Regions from separate parts of the Homo sapiens genome. Here all the other regions are linked to region 6. The links are contacts of gene promoters, found by promoter capture Hi-C in human tissues and cell types (Jung and others, 2019). All regions are on one chromosome and are shown on one strand. Each heading gives the region's core, a stretch centred on a gene start or on the middle of the fragment in contact. The rest is flanking DNA. Distances are from core to core; before and after follow the strand shown. Region 1 overlaps ERC1 (ELKS/RAB6-interacting/CAST family member 1). Region 2 overlaps ERC1 (ELKS/RAB6-interacting/CAST family member 1). Region 3 overlaps ERC1 (ELKS/RAB6-interacting/CAST family member 1). Region 4 overlaps ERC1 (ELKS/RAB6-interacting/CAST family member 1). Region 5 overlaps ERC1 (ELKS/RAB6-interacting/CAST family member 1). Region 6 holds the start of FBXL14 (F-box and leucine rich repeat protein 14).

Region 1 (2,700 bases), core at 154-2,653, 360 kb after region 6:
CCTCCATTAATAAGAACAACCTATATCTCAAAATTTATGTTTAAAATCCCTTTGCTTTTATTATTGTTTTGCTACATATATATATATGAACTGTTCATTTATAGTTTACATGTTTTTGAGCTTTATAAAGATAAATAATTATTCATTTTTCTTTTTAGTACAGAATGATATTCAATATTATTCCCTTTCAATAGGTTTCGAGACTTAGACCATTCAGAGTGTAATGTATCTTTTAATCTTCTCCACTTTCACTGAGGTATGAAATAATATATGGCAATTACTTTAATCTACTCCCCAGAAGATGACAATTGCATTGTTTCCATCTTCTTGCCATTTTAAATAATGCTGCTAGGTGCACTCTGATATACCTGGGCAGGAATATCTCTAAGGTATAGGCCTAGGAACTGAATTGCTAGGAAATACAGTAGGTACACCTTATTTTATTTTATTTTCCAAGAAGCTATATTAATTTATACTCTTGCTAGCTGTGCACAACTGTTGGCCATTATACCTCTCCACATCCATTAATACATGGTACTGACTTTCTAAATGTTTCCAATAGGGTAGAAAAAAAATAGTACCTCATTATAGTTTTACAATGCATGTTTCTAACCACCTAGGCTGAATATCTTATCATACAGTATTTGGCCATTCCTGTTTCCACTTCTGTGAAATAGCTATTTGTGTCTTTCTCCACTTTTTAAATTAACATATCTTTTTCTTAATGACTTATAGGTATTCTTTATACATTATAGATAATAATACTTTATCCGTTATATGTTATGTAAGTATTTTCTTCTAGTCTATGATTTCTTTACATCTTTTCATCGATAGAATTCAATTTTATTTTTCTTCCGAGATGGGATCTCACTCAGTCGCCAAGGCTAGTGTGCAGTGGCACAATCTCCGCTCACTGCAGCCTTGACCCCCCAGGCTCAGGTGATTCTCCCACCTCAGCCTCCTGAACAGCTGGAATTACAGGCACATGCCACCACACCCAGCTAATTTGTAGTAGAGATGAGGTTTCACTATGTTGCCTATGCTGGTCTTGAACTCCTGGACTCAAGCAATCCACTGGCCTCTGCCTCCCAGTGTTGGGATTACAGGCATGAGTCACCATGTCCAGCCTAAAACTTTTAATTGTTTCAAATGTATCAATCTTCTCCTTTATAATATACAATTTTGTGACATTTCCACAAAATCTTGTCCATCAAAGTTCATAAAGATATTCCCCTAAAACGACGTTAACTTTGTCTTTCACGTTGCAGTCATTAATCCATCTGAAACCGAGGTTGCATATGTTATGAGGTAAAAACATACTTCCATTTTGGGGGGTTTGGTATAACATAATAATATTTCATTTTTTACATGTATTTATAATGAATTTTCCCAGGAATATTTACATGCATTGCCACTTCTGGTGTGTACAAAGTTTCTATATGCATGTGTACCTGTTTTGTGGCTATGTTTGTATATTTCTGTGCCAGATCTATACCACCTTAATTACTATACCTTTACAAAAAGTAATTAGCAAGGCAAGGCTCCCTACCTTTTTCTTCTTCAAAACTCTCTTGGCTGTTCTTGGCGCTTTACGCTTCTCATAGAAATTTCAGAACTAGCCCGTCAAGTTCCACCAAACCAACCAACCAACTACAGCAACAAAAAACCCAACAGCAGCCTCTGGGATTTTGATTCCAATCACATTGAAGCAATGTCAGTTTGGGAAAAACTTCATGCTTTTGGATCTTTCAATTCATTAACATACTACAGATGCTCCTCAACTTACCATTGGGCTATATCCCAATAAACCCACCATAAGTTGAAAATATCCTAAGTCCAAAATGCATTTAAAACACCTAATCTGGAAAGTAGCAGTTGTTTACTCTCCTGGTTGTGTGGCTAACTGGGATCTGTGGCTCACTGCCACTGTCCAGCATCACAAGAGAGTATCATATTACATACCAATAGCACAGGAAAAGATCAAAATTCAAAGTGTGGTTTTACTGAACGTGTATCACTTTTGCACTATCGTTAGGTTGAAAACTGGTCAGTGTGTTTATCTATTTGTTTAGGTCTCCTTAAAAGGCTAACAAAGCATTATATTTTCCTCCATAAAAAATGTGTATATATTTTATTTCTATGTACATTATACGTTTTGCCATCATTTAAAATTCCAGATATCATGTCATTATACCCTTATACATGCTTCCTGATGCATCTCCAAAAAAGAGCATGTTTAACAACGTAAATTGTAACAAAATTAACAATTCCTCAATATCAGTATAATATATAGTCCATATTCAAATTTCCCCATTTGAATCAAAGTTTATTTCTTACGGCTACTTTATTTGAATCAAAATACAAAAAACGCCCATACATTGTGCTTATTGTCAGATCCTTCAAATCCCTACTAATCTAGAGAAAAGTCTCTTACCTCCTCCAATGTACCCTTTTTGAATGCCAGTGATTTTTTTAAAAAGGAAATCAATTATTCCATACAACGACTCACATTCTGGATTGTATGTTTGCTTCTTCATGATGAAATTCAACTTGTTTCTCTATATCTCTTGCTTTTTGTTTGTTTTGATACTGAATATTAGCTTTAAAGACTTGAATATATTCAATTTTCATTTTTAGGTAAAAATAATAATTAATGGTGTTGTATAACTGACATTGCCTCACATCTGACAGCATATAATA
Region 2 (2,700 bases), core at 151-2,650, 340 kb after region 6:
AAAACACTAATTCCTCATCATCTATGATAAGATGTCAACAGACAACGCCCAAATAAGAAAAATAATACAACAATAATATAAGAATGTCATTTGGAAAGATAAAAATAAACAACAGTAGAAACAACCAAAAGAGATGAAAGTGGTCATCTCAGAGGAAGAGGAATCAGAGTTAGAAAAGAATAAGAGAAGTGACTATTATTCTAAGACATGTAAGTATTATTTGTGTAAATAATATAAAATACATAGTTCTGATATAAAATCAAAAGAAAATTGAAAAATATGTTAAAAGAGTATCTTGCACTATGAAGAAATCAATAGGGATCTAAAGACCTTCTGGAAATAGTTACAAGTGTCATTGTTTAGATAACTGATATCTAAATATGTAAGTTAACTGTTTACTGTGAAAAGAGAAAAGCAGACCAGGCAAACACATCTTCAGGCAGTGCTCATGATCAGAAAAAAGAAAGGTAAAGAGAACAAAACATGTATGGATTATACATCATTGTGCTCTTCAGCTTTTTATTCAAAAGTCCTATGAATTTCTTCACGGCAATATTTTACAGAAGTGGGTCAGAATTATGATAAGAAATTCCTTTCAAGTCTTTTGATAACCATGGGATGTTCTAAATAACAACATTTTTTAAAAGGGACAATATTATCACAGTAAGTTCTTCCATAAATCCTGAAGATTCTGAAGATTTAAAAATCTCTAATCTGTCAATGCCAGACTTTGAGTTGAAGAAGTGACAGTTGTCACCAGCTTCCTTGAAAGTGAGTGAGCCAATAAGATGTCATATTAGACTTGAGAATCATGAAATGCAACAGACTTCACATACTTCTGCTCTGAGGACCACATCGATGAAGTAAGGGGATGTGCTAAAACCCCTGGAAAGTGCTTCCTGGTGGCCCAAGTGTAAGAGTGATTCTACCATGTGTAGCCTGAGGCTTGGAATACATGCTTTACATGCTAAAGTACATTTTCTCCTTCAAAAAGTCCATATTCACCAACCTTCATGATAAACTATGAGACAGTAAGAGCCATTCTGAGTCTGTAATGCTGAAGAAATCTACATATACTATGTACTATCCCTAATTCCTCCTATCCCTATATTCCTTAGGTTTGAAGGATCTGAAGCATCTGGAAATTAGGAAGTTGACTTACTGGAACTAAATGTAGCTAGAGATTAAGATAGGACATGCCACACTTAATTTGAGAAAATCATACCTGTTGTTTATAGGCATTCTTAATCTGCCGCTAGCTTAGAAGAAAATATTCTTCTTTAGCTAATATACTATTTGTACTGTCCAATGCAGAAGCCACTAGCAACAACTAGCTACTGGGTGATTAAACGTGGCTAGTCCAAACTGAGATGTGCTATAAACACACCTAAATTTCAAAAACTTAGTCTTAAAAAAAGGAGGTACAACACTTCTTTAATAATTTTCATATTGATTATATGTTGAAATAATATTTTGGATATATTTGATTAAAGAAAACATTATTAAAATTAATGTTTCCTTTTAGTTTTTTTAATGAGACTATTAGAAAATTCAAAATTATACGTGTGGCTCACATTGTATTTCTACTGGAGAATGTGGCACTAGTTAGAGCAGTTTTTTACATAGGAAATAAATCTATAAAAGGCTATATGACACATCATGTTTTACATACATTTGTAACTCTTTTCCCAGCTTACAGGCTGTCAGCAGACAAATATGAGTTATATAGGTAATAAACACCAACAAAAGCTCCAATGTTACCCAACCCTGATAATTACCATGGTGATAATATGAATAAAACAATTTAAAATAGCATTTATTACTCTAACAGAGAAAACCAAACTGTGGATTTAGAGGGGAAAAATCAGACTATGGTAGATCACCTTAATACTAAAAATATAAAATATCTGTAATCATTGTTCATTGTTGTATTAATGAGTTACTTCGAAACTTAGCAGCTTAAGAAAACAGTGAATACTGATTATCTCACACAGTTTGTGTGGGTCAAGAACTCAAAAGCAGCTTAGCTAAACAGTTCTGGTGCCAGGGTCTCTTATGAGGTGGTAGTCAAGATGTCAACCAGGATTCAGTCCTTTGCTTCCACTTACATGGCTGGCAAGGTGGTGCAGCTAGTGGCAAGAGGCCTCTGTTCCTCTCCACCGGGCTGCTTGAGTGTCATTACAACACGGAGGCTGGCTCTCACCAGGGCAAGTGATTCAGGAGTGCAAGGCAGTTGCATCAGTATCTTTTGTGATGTAGCTTCAGAAGCCGGCGCCATCACTTCTGCCTTCTTGTACGGTTCATACAGACCAATCCTGACAGGGTGCGGGAGAGGACTACACAAGGGCATGAACGCCAGGAGGTAAGGATGACTTGGAGTCAAACTGAAGGATGGGTATTATAGAACCTGAGGATGTAGCTCCAGTATAACAAAACTGGATTATCAATGAAGACAAAATTTCTTCTCCAAGAAAAATGCCTTTTAGGCTAACAGGACCTCAATTATAAAAACACAGCTGTTGGTATGAGACTATATTAAAATGGAACCCAAACATACCTAAAATATAAAGGCAGATATTATGGAGACTACAGAATTGAGATATGGCTCAGCATTTCACTGAATGTGAAACCAGCAAGATATGCATTATGTCAGGAATTATTCAGAATAAACTCTGCAAGTGATTTGAACTCTAATAAAAT
Region 3 (2,700 bases), core at 158-2,657, 300 kb after region 6:
GACTAAATCTTTTCACTTGTTCAATGATCAATAATTGAATAATTTAAACCTTTAAAATATGGTGGGTCCTGCAGTGACTACAGAGTGAAGAATCTAGTGTCATTGCCAACAGTCACAGGGAGGACTTTCCTTTCTCTACTTAAACCTGCAAGCTTTTTTCTGATGATGCTACTCGGAACTCTAACCTCTCTTAATTCTCCCCCTATGCCAATCCACTTCCGGCTTCACTTACACATTACTTCCAAGACATATCACTCATAATGCTTTTCTAAAAGGACAGAATCTCGTAGCCTTGCACTATAGCCCAAGAACGTGAAAGCACAGAGGACACCTCAACATTCTTGGGTTGCAGTCACAATATCACAATCATCATGTCCCATGAGAATTCATGCTAAGGTATTATGGCAAGATTCTGTACAGCTCTATTATTCAGGTATTCAAAGTTTACTGATAGTTCAAAGTAGCAGAAAAGTAAACTGATGTCAGTTTAAAGCACTAGTTGGAGTGAAAAAATTTTATTTTAGGCCAAAGACAGACTGTGCATTTATGCAGAGAAGAAGTGAGCAAGGGTCACGTGAGAAAGAACTGACAGTGAAAGGCTGCTGAGGCGGGGACTTGAAATCTGTGACAGAAAGAAGAATCTGGCCTTATGAAGGAGAAAAAAACCTATTCTCTGAGACAGAAAAGAAGACAACAAAAATAAAGATAACTGCTCACAGAACGAGGGTAACTGAGGGTAACTGAGGGATCCCAGGATAGACCTGGTTTCAGTAAAATAGCAGTAGGGTCTTTAGGTAAGGGGAAGGATTAGGAATGGTAAATGAGAGGGTACAACTGGATTTTCAAAAGACACATGTTTGTTTTAAACAGAAGGTCACTGAGAAGTAAAAGAAACATCTACTATGTATTAGCAGATGTATACATGCTTCACAACAGATTATGGTCTCAGCAACCTACAAAATGTGGGGGAAGCAGGAAAATGTGTATAGCAAAGCTCTGCTAAAAGTGACAATTTTCTAAAAATTGGCTTCCAGTGTGGCAAAATGGTAACTACTGAATCTTGGAGACAGGTATATGGGGGTTCATTCTCTCTACCTGTGTGTACCTTTGGAAATGTTTACAATAAAAAATGTGTTTAAAAATTGCCTAGTCTTCATACAACCTCAGAACCAACAGCCCTCTTCCCCAGTAAGCTCGCCATTTTGCCTGAACTTTCCAGAAGATTTTAGGAATTTCAGAGAGGTAATTACACACAGATATGTATAAGCCAGAGGATTTAAAAATCATTAAAGAGGAACCAAAAATATTTCTATTTGATCAGGATTTGTTCCACCTTTGACCAAATTTATTCTAGAGAGTGAGAAATACAAGTTAGCACTAAAATTAAGTAAGTGTATTGGGGTAAAACACAGAGCCAGAAGATGAATGCAGGGAGAAAAAGTATTTCCACTAAGCATATGCTTGAAGAATAAGACTACAAACACTTACTTCATCTCCAGAACTTCCTCTAAGTGTTTCCTTCTCTCTGCCCGAAGATTAGTCAAGTGAGTTTCCTTTTCTGCCAGAGACTGCTGGGTGGAGGACAGCTTTGCTTTCATGGATTCTAGTTCCTGCTTTACCTTCTCCATGGCCATCAGTAACTCCTCCACCTATCATAAATATGGGAAAGAGAACAACAGAGTGTCTTGATCAATCAGAGTCAGAGGACCTGGGTAACACGCAACTCCTGGGTCCAGAAAATTGAAGAGACGCAGGAACACATTGAAAATTCTGTACTCTTTCTGGATCAGTTATGTGTGTGTATATATCAAGAATCAATATAGCAGATAATAACATCCCTACAGTATAATTCTTTTCAGCTTAGGTCAGAAAGAACTTAATACATGCAAGGGCATACAAGTTATCAGTTTAAGAAGTCGCACGCTGCCACAGACAATACCTTTTAAGGAAGTTCTTTGGAAATGACCCAGAAATTTCCATGGAAATAATACAATACAAATATAAAAAAATATACAGAACGATTTTAGGAAATAAAAGACATAAACTTGGCAAATAACAGATTTCCTGTATACATAGACGAATAATTTTTAGTCCTCTAAACTAAAATTTTCCTATTTACATCATTAAGAAGAATTTCTTTTTAAAGAAACTGCTAGAATTCAATCAGACAATTTCTTGCTCTAAATCCAGGTAGGTAGGGTTTCTTTTTTAAGGAAGGCAGGAAGGAAATATAACCCTATATACCTATATAACTATACAGGCATATATATACCTATATACTACATAGGCAGTGTATATATATATATTATATATATACTATATATTATATAGGCAGGAAGGAAATATATCCCTATATACCTATATAGTTATGTGTGTGTGTGTGTGTGTGTGTGTGTGTGTGTGTGTGTGTGTGTGTACATACCAGATAGAAAGGAGACAGAATGCTTTAAAAATGACATGGGGAAAAAAAAAAAGCCTTGACAGCAACAGACCTGAAAAACAACAAACAAAAAGCCACCAGAGAAGACAGACAAAATGCTAAAACATAAGGAAAAGAAACTAAGAGAGCAAGGTAAGTACTTTATCAGTAATTTCCACTTATTCCAGGTGGCTACCAAATCAGAATTATTTAAATAAACTTGTTCATTTTAATTCAGAAGCAAATGTAATCAAACAGCCAACTGCATCAATTACAAGACT
Region 4 (2,700 bases), core at 5-2,504, 280 kb after region 6:
GTTGATTTTCCTACGCACTACAAAAGAGCCCTCTCCAGTGCTTCTCACACAATTACACAATCACTCTATTGTAAGTCAGAAGAGGATTAATGATTGAGTTTTATTTGATTATAGTCTTGATTAATCCTGACTTTGTTTAATTTGTGACCTTTGCTGGAATCCCAAGGGCTGGGAATTAGAAAATGCACACTGTACCACTGTACTCCGAACAGTTTGAGCTTGCCAATTTATTTCATGCCTCATTAGCCACAAAAGCTATAAAATTTTAGTCCAAAAACAGTTCCACATTTTTTCAGAGTACGGGTACAAAATTTTGTATGAGCTTTTCATTTTGATTTAAATACAGTAAGCCAATAATTAAGTCTACCCTAGTTATACCCATAGGGTTCTAATTCCAACTGGCAGGTATCTCAGCAAAATACCAAACCCCAGGCAAGTCACATCATGATGCAGCTGCCCTGATTTCCCAAGGCTCAGATTTAGTTTTTGTGAAGGGCAGAAAAAATAAAATCTGCTTTTAAAAAATCCTCCCAAATTACAATATTCCTTGATAAACAAATCTTAAAATAGATATCACATCATGGAAATTTTAGTTCTAACTTGAAAGCTCATATATACTTATTTACTATTTGAGAATAGTATTTGTAAATTTTTAGTTATTTACTATTTCAGGATTAGGTCTTTTAAAACATTTTTATAAATAATTTACAATATACACATGCTACATAAAATATTTACCTTTTAGAGTTCCCAGAATCAGCAAATTATTTATGAGAAACTATAGAAGAAGCCCCTTTATGTGACACTCAAGTCTGCTAGGTGATTAACTAAAATATTTCTTAAAGAATAAAGAAAGTATATAGAGAGTGTTTTGCTGCTTTGAAGCTGCTTTGCTGGTTTTTCATTTAGACGAGATCCAAAGATCACCATATAATCTGATGACTTAGGTTCAGTATTGTCTTTTTCACATCCTTTTCAGCTCTGGTTGTGTGAAAGTGGGGCTAGTCAGTATGCAGACATTTGAAATACAATGCCAATTTCAAACTGTGAGGTTTCAAAAAGTCTCCCAATATTCAGTAACTGTTAACCTAATTCAACAGCAGCAATTTTTTTTTGGATTTACTTTTTTTAAAATTATACTTTAAGTTCTGGGATACACGTGCAGAACGTGCAGGTTTGTTACATAGGTATACATGTGCCATGGTGGTTTGCTGCACCCATCAACCCATCATCTACATTAGGTATTTCTCCTAATGCTATCCCTTTCCTAGCCCCTGATCCCCCGACAGGCCGTGTGTGATGTTCCCCTCCCTGTGTCCATGTGTTCTCACGGTTCAGCTCCCACTTATGAGTGAGAACATGCGGTGTTTGGTTTTCTGTTCCTGTGTTAGTTTGCTGAGAATGATGGTTTCCAGCTTCATCCATGTCCCTGCAAAGGACATGAACTCATCCTTTTTTATGGCTGCATAGTATTCCATGGTGTATATGTTACACATTTTCTTTTTTTTTTTTTTTCGTTTTTGAGACAGAGTTTCTCTCTTGTTGCCCAGGGTGGAGTGCAATGGCATGACCTCGGCTCACTGCAACCTCTGCCTCCTGGATTCAAGCGATTCTCCTGTCTCAGCCTCCTGAGTAGCTGGGATTACAGGTGCCTGCCACTACACCCAGCTAATTTTTGGTATTTTTAGTAGAGATGGGGTTTCACCATGTTGGCCAGGCTGGTCTTGAACTCCTGACCTCAGGTGATCCACCCGCCTCGGCCTCCCAAAGTGCTGGGATTACAGGCATGAGCCGCCATGCCTGGCCACGTGCCACATTTTCTTTATCCAGTCTATCATTGATGGGCATTTGGTTTGGTTCCAAGTCTTTGCTATTGTGAACAGTGCTGCAATAAACATACGTGTGCATGTGTCTTTATAGCAGCATGATTTATAATCCTTTGGGTATATATCCAGTAATGGGATTGCTGGGTCAAATGGTATTTCTGGTTCTAGATCCTTGAGGAATCGCCACAGTGTCTTCCACAATGGTTGAACTAATTTACACTCCCACCAACAGTATAAAAGCGTTCCTATTTTTCCAAATCCTCTCCCGCATTAACAACAGCAATTTTGAAATGACTTACCTGCATCCCTTTTCCAAAACATTTTGCTTTATTTCACAGAGATATTTTTTCATATGAGTATGTCATTGGTTTCTTATAATAATAAAAATATATAATTAAAATATCAAGAATAGCTGGAATAAATAACTTTTCAGCAATAATACAACTAAACAGGTTAACAGAGCCATGCCTGGTATATGTGACAGTAATCTAGTAGCTTTTTCAGCATGCTCTGAGCAAAAATTGGCATGGTTAACAGAGAAAAGAAAGTCTCAACCTGACAAGTAGTTATGAATTAAGTGGAAGGTGGTTTAAAAAGCTTCTCATATATTTAATAGTGTTCACTGCTCAGTTAGCCTAAAAGTGCCCATTAGCTATAAAAAGATGTTTACCAGCCGGGCGCGGTGGCTCAAGCCAGTAATCCCAGCACTTTGGGAGGCCGAGGCGGGTGGATCACGAGGTCAGGAGATCAAGACCATCTGCCTAACACGGTGAAACCCCATTTCTACTAAAAATACAAAAAATTAGTCGGGCGTGATGGCATGCACCTGTAGTCCCAGCTGCTGGGGGAGGCTGAGGCAGGGGAATGGCTCACT
Region 5 (2,700 bases), core at 116-2,615, 440 kb after region 6:
GCTAAGATTGCACCACTGCACTCCAGCCTGGGCGACAGAGTGAGACTCTGTCTCAAAAAAATAAAATAAATAAAATAAAATAAGAAAAACCCCTATCTTCATCTACCTGTAAATCTTAGGTTAAATTTAGTTAAATTATGGTAGAAGTATGATTCAGAAAACCATGTAGATATTTTTTAAGATGAGATAAAGCTGTATATAAGATGATATTAAAATGTTTATTTTTAAATTAATAAAAAGTATGATTCCAGTTGTTTTTTAAAAGGTATATAACACATAAATGCTTGATATGCATAGAAACTTTATGAAACGGCACACAAAGAACTGTTAACAACAGTTAATAACCCTAAAGAACTGCACTGAGAGGAGCAAAGGATGGGAGAAGGAACTTTAATTTCACTCCATATGTTTTGGTAATTTTTATTTTTATTTATTTATTTTTTTTTTACCTTGAACACATATTACTCTCATACTGTTAATACAAGTCATTTTTTAAATCCTACATTGTCATTTCTCAGGGCTTTTAAAAAAATACTTATCAGCAGGGCGCGGTGGCTCACGCCTGTAATCCCAGCACTTTGGGAGGCTGAGGCAGGCAGATCACGAGGTCAGGAAATCGAGACCACCTAACATGGTGAAACCCCGTCTCTACTAAAAATACAAAAAATTAGCCGGGCGTGGTGGCACGTGCCTGTGGTCCCAGCTACTCAGGAAGCTGAGGCAGGAGAATGGTGTGAACCCAGGGAGGTGGAGCTTGCAGTGAGCCGAGATGGCGCCACTGCAATCCAGCCTGGGCGACAGAGCGAGACTCCGTCTCAAAAAAAAAAAAGGAAAGTTTAATTTTCTTTATCCATTCATTGGTTGATGGGCACTTAGGTTGATTCCATATCATAGATGTCTTTTTTTTCAGAATGACTTCTTTTCCTTTGGGTAGACTCCTAGTAGTGGGACTGCTGGATGAAATGATAAATCTTTTTTTTTTTTTTTTTTTTTTTTGAGATGAAGTCTCGCCCTGTGAGTGCAGTGGCACGATCCAGGCTCACTGCAACCTCTGCCTCCCAGGTCCAAGCAATTCTCGTGTCTCAGCCTCCCAAGTAGCTGAGACTACAGGCACGTACCAATATGCCCATCAGATTTTTTTATTTTTAGTAGATATGGGGTTTCGCCACGTTGGCCATGTTGCCAGGTTTGTCTTGAACTCCTGACCACAGGTGATCCATCTGCCTCGGCCTCCCTAAGTGCTGGGACTACAGGTGTGAGCCACTACGCCCAGCCTGAAATGATAAATGTACTTTTAGTTCTTTGAAAAATATCCATACAGTTTTCCATAAAGGTTGTACTAATTTACGTTTGCTCCAACAGTGTGTAAGAGTTCTCTTTTCACCACATCCATGATACCAGCTATTATTTTTTAACTTTTTAATAATAGCCCTTCTGGATGGGGTAGGGTGGTATCTCACTGTCATTTTAATTTGCATTTCCCTGATGATTAGTGATGCTGAGCATTTTTTCATACATTTTTGGGCATTTGTATATCTTCTTTTGAGAAATGTCTATTCATGCTATTTGCCCATTTTTTATGGGATTATTTTTTTTTCTTGTTGATTTAAGTTCCTTGTAGACTGTGGATATTAATATTTTGTTGAATATGATGCAAATATTTTCTCCCATTCTGTAGGTGGTCTATTTACTCTTTTGATTATTTATTTTGCTGTACAGAAGCTTTTTAGTTTAATTAAGTCCATTAAGTCCCATTTATTCATTTTTATTTTGTTGTGCTTTTGAGATCCTTGTCATAAATCCTTCGCCTGAGCCAATGTTCAGAGGAGTTTTCCCTGTGTTATCTTCCAGAATTTTTATGGTTTCGGGTCTTAGATTAAGTCTTTAATCCACCTAGGTTAATTTTTGTATATGGCAAGAGACAGAAAGTGTGTGTGTGTGTGTGTGTGTGTGTGTATAAACACACATGGGTATGTGTGTATATATATATACACACACACATATATATGCACGTGTGTGTGTATATATACATGTATATGTGTATATATACACATATACATATACATATACATATACATATACATATACATATACATACACACACACACCATGGAATACTACTCGGCCATGAAAAAAAGAATGAAATCATGTCTTTTGCAGCAACCTGGATGGAACTGGAGGCCATCATCCTAAGTGAAGTAACTCAGGAATGGAAAACCAAATACTGCATGTTCTCACTCATAAGAGGGAGGCAGTGCTGAGTACCCAAAGGCATACAGAGTGGTATAACGGACACTAGAGACTCAGAGCAGGGGGAGGCAGGCAGGGGAGAAATGAAAAATTACCTATTGAATACAATGTACATTATTCAGGTACACTTGGGAACTTCCCAAACTACTCCAAACGAATAAAGTTATTAATTAACAAAAAAAGAAATGGAGTATCCCAAAAGTGCAGGAAGGGAAAGGGCCAGGGGAAGGCGCAGGGCTGGGGCCTGTGATTATGTAGGCCAAAATCCGACCATGTGAAGAAAGGAGGGCCCAGGAGGGCAAGCCCAGCATTCCACACGCACGGCCAGGGAGGGGCTTCGAACACCTGCCCCGCTTGGCAAACTCACAGTGATCCGTTTGTTTTCCCTTCTCCGAGTTCATGCATTCTTCAAGCTTTGGTAACTGGAATGTTTGTCTTTTCAGGCTCAAA
Region 6 (2,700 bases), core at 196-2,695:
TTGGGCAAAAGTTACTCTCCTACACTGAATATGGAACCCCTTCCAAATCTTGTTCAGGTCCTCAAAGAATCAATGAAACCATTTTCCCTTTCTGATAAATCCGCTGGTCTTGTATCTAGTTGTGTGGATCCATAAATTAAAATACAGAGGATCATTTTCTCTGATCCAAAAATTCTTGGTTTGGGGGTAGTTAAAATGAAACTTCTGAAATTCTATCCTTAGTACGGACATTTAGGACCCAGGGGCTACATCCTAGAATGGAATTGTGCCCTGCTTCCATAAAACGGTTGATAAACCAACAGACACGACTGGATTGTCTTAAACCAAGTTCAACTGTCATTCCATTTTAATCAAAAAGTAAATTGGATTCAGCATATACGAATATATTGACTATCAGTACAACTGAGCCATACAACTGATAGTCTAAGGCTGATGACAAGGAGAAAGCTCCTAAAACAAGGCTTAGGGGAAGGCTGTTCCCCTGTAAGCAAAGCGGACTGAGGGCATTGGTGGCGCAGCAGCGTTCAGAAGTAGAGGGAAGTTTTGATGTATCAAGTACCGAGGGAAACACACACAGCGTGTCTGGAAACCATCAGAAGATGCTAGAAGGAAGTAGTCATGGATAATTCTAGAAATTTCTAGAACACCGACTGGAGGGGGTCATTGTTTAAGATGAGTACAGCCGAGTTTCTCTCCAATTTAAGACACAAGACTGGAGAGAAAGGCGTCGTAGTAAACAGCCCCAACCGGGGGAGCAGGGGGTGTGATAATGAGGCGTTAAGGGGCATTAGGGACAGTAAGAAAAGGAGAGTTGGGGTGACGATTATTGAGCACTGCTATAGGAGGCGGCTCTCGCAGGGATAATCAAGGGAGAGGGGTGTGAAATAAGGGTAACGAATTGCAGGGGTAAACTGTGGGAAGGGGCTGCGCAGACTTCAACAGCAAAGAAAAAGAAGGAACGGGGCTGGGGCGTGGCCCAGAGAGGGAACGGCTCAATAACGGGCTACCGGGTGAAAAGAAGCCGGGTGGGGAGGCGCTCTGCTGACAGCTGCCGCTCCCCCGTGGCGCCCACAGGGTTAAAAATCAGGGGCCACGGGACCAGGCCGAACTCGGTTTCCAGGGCAACGGCTCCACAGTTCCGGCAGCGCAGGCCCGTACCATTGCGCGGGCGCGGGGGAGCGGGAGCGGCGGAGGGGACGCGCTGCAGGGCGGCGGAGCCGGGGCCGGCCCGGGCGCTACCAAACGCACGGCCCGCCTGCTCGCCCGGGGTCTGCGCCGAGCCGCGCTCCGGCCGGACGGCCGCGGCGTCCTTGGTGCGGGGGCCGGCAGCTCCCAAGTGGCCGCGGACGGCGGGGGAGAAGGAACGCACGCCGCCGGCCGGGATTGGCCTCCTGGTCCCCCCGCCTGGGCGGCGGAGTGCGGGCGGCCCGGGGCTGGGAGGTTTGAAAAGCGGGCGAGAGACAAAGGCAGCAGGAAGCCTCCTCCGCGCCCGGAGCCCGTGCGCCCGGCCCCCGGGGCCCCCTCGCCGCCCGCCGGCCCGCGGAGCAGCGGCGGCGGCAGGAGGCGGAGGATGCGGCAGGGGGCGTGGGCGCGGCGGCGCGGGCGGAGCGGCGCGGCCCGGGCGCGGCGTGGGTAGAGCCGAGGCGGCGGCGGCGGCCGGCCTCCGGGAGCGAGAGCGAGGCGCCTTCCCCGCCCGGGATGTGAGCGCCGTGCGGAGCCCGGGGCGGGGGAGGGCCGGGCCGGAGGCGCAGCCGGCAGGAAGGAAGGACGGACGGACCAGGAGGAGGAGCGGCGGCGGCGGCCGGAGCCGGAAGGCGGGGAGGGGCCGGCCGTTGGGCCCGAGGCGGCGGCGGCGGCGGCGGCGGCGGCTGGGGAGAAGCGCTCTCGTCGCCTGCCCGAGGCCGGAGCGGCGGGGCCCGCGCCTCCTCCCCCCAGCGCCGCGGAGGGGGGAGGAGGAAGATGGAGACCCACATCTCATGCCTGTTCCCGGAGCTGCTGGCCATGATCTTCGGCTACCTGGACGTCCGGGACAAGGGGCGCGCGGCGCAGGTGTGCACCGCCTGGCGGGACGCCGCCTACCACAAGTCGGTGTGGCGGGGGGTGGAGGCCAAGCTGCACCTGCGCCGGGCCAACCCGTCGCTGTTCCCCAGCCTGCAGGCCCGGGGCATCCGCCGGGTGCAGATCCTGAGCCTCCGCCGCAGCCTCAGCTACGTGATCCAGGGCATGGCCAACATCGAGAGCCTCAACCTCAGCGGCTGCTACAACCTCACCGACAACGGGCTGGGCCACGCGTTTGTGCAGGAGATCGGCTCCCTGCGCGCTCTCAACCTGAGCCTCTGCAAGCAGATCACTGACAGCAGCCTGGGCCGCATAGCCCAGTACCTCAAGGGCCTGGAGGTGCTGGAGCTGGGAGGTTGCAGCAACATCACCAACACTGGCCTTCTGCTCATCGCCTGGGGTCTGCAGCGCCTCAAGAGCCTTAACCTCCGCAGCTGCCGCCACCTTTCGGATGTGGGCATCGGGCACCTGGCCGGCATGACGCGCAGCGCGGCGGAGGGCTGCCTGGGCCTGGAGCAGCTCACGCTACAGGACTGCCAGAAGCTCACAGATCTTTCTCTAAAGCACATCTCCCGAGGGCTGACGGGCCTGAGGCTCCTCAACCTCAGCTTCTGTGGGGGAATCTCGGACGCTGGCCTCCTG

The links. The method cuts DNA at HindIII sites, captures the fragments that hold promoters and counts their contacts. A contact is called where the count stands out against the background at its distance.
Region 1: a contact is called between a fragment that was not itself captured here and the fragment with the promoter of FBXL14 in region 6, in 1 of the 25 tissues and cell types used here (heart left ventricle).
Region 2: a fragment that was not itself captured here is called in contact with the fragment with the promoter of FBXL14 in region 6 in 1 of the 25 tissues and cell types used here (H1 embryonic stem cells).
Region 3: a contact is called between a fragment that was not itself captured here and the fragment with the promoter of FBXL14 in region 6, in 1 of the 25 tissues and cell types used here (dorsolateral prefrontal cortex).
Region 4: a contact is called between a fragment that was not itself captured here and the fragment with the promoter of FBXL14 in region 6, in 2 of the 25 tissues and cell types used here (aorta and hippocampus).
Region 5: a fragment that was not itself captured here is called in contact with the fragment with the promoter of FBXL14 in region 6 in 2 of the 25 tissues and cell types used here (dorsolateral prefrontal cortex and lymphoblastoid cells).

Annotation. Positions count from the first base shown.
Region 1 is chr12:1,233,515-1,236,214 of GRCh38, reverse strand. All of the region lies in intron 12 of ERC1 (ELKS/RAB6-interacting/CAST family member 1), which reads right to left. Among named protein-coding and RNA genes, the nearest start is that of ERC1, 240 kb to the right of the region's middle. The HindIII fragment of the contact is 3,512 bases long and covers 1-2,700 here.
Region 2 is chr12:1,256,646-1,259,345 of GRCh38, reverse strand. All of the region lies in intron 13 of ERC1 (ELKS/RAB6-interacting/CAST family member 1), which reads right to left. Among named protein-coding and RNA genes, the nearest start is that of LINC00942, 240 kb to the left of the region's middle. The HindIII fragment of the contact is 7,878 bases long and covers 1-2,700 here.
Region 3 is chr12:1,288,801-1,291,500 of GRCh38, reverse strand. ERC1 (ELKS/RAB6-interacting/CAST family member 1) reads right to left here. Exons shown (of 19, transcript NM_178040.4): 15 at 1,489-1,649. Among named protein-coding and RNA genes, the nearest start is that of LINC00942, 210 kb to the left of the region's middle. The HindIII fragment of the contact is 6,117 bases long and covers 1-2,700 here.
Region 4 is chr12:1,315,984-1,318,683 of GRCh38, reverse strand. All of the region lies in intron 15 of ERC1 (ELKS/RAB6-interacting/CAST family member 1), which reads right to left. Among named protein-coding and RNA genes, the nearest start is that of LINC00942, 180 kb to the left of the region's middle. The HindIII fragment of the contact is 5,493 bases long and covers 1-2,700 here.
Region 5 is chr12:1,153,611-1,156,310 of GRCh38, reverse strand. All of the region lies in intron 8 of ERC1 (ELKS/RAB6-interacting/CAST family member 1), which reads right to left. Among named protein-coding and RNA genes, the nearest start is that of ERC1, 160 kb to the right of the region's middle. The HindIII fragment of the contact is 5,020 bases long and covers 1-2,700 here.
Region 6 is chr12:1,593,326-1,596,025 of GRCh38, reverse strand. It overlaps FBXL14 (F-box and leucine rich repeat protein 14), which reads left to right and starts at 1,445. Exons shown (of 2, transcript NM_152441.3): 1 at 1,445-2,700. The coding sequence starts at 1,960. RefSeq lists enhancers at 741-810, 2,181-2,370 and a silencer at 1,071-1,940. The HindIII fragment of the contact is 15,118 bases long and covers 1-2,700 here.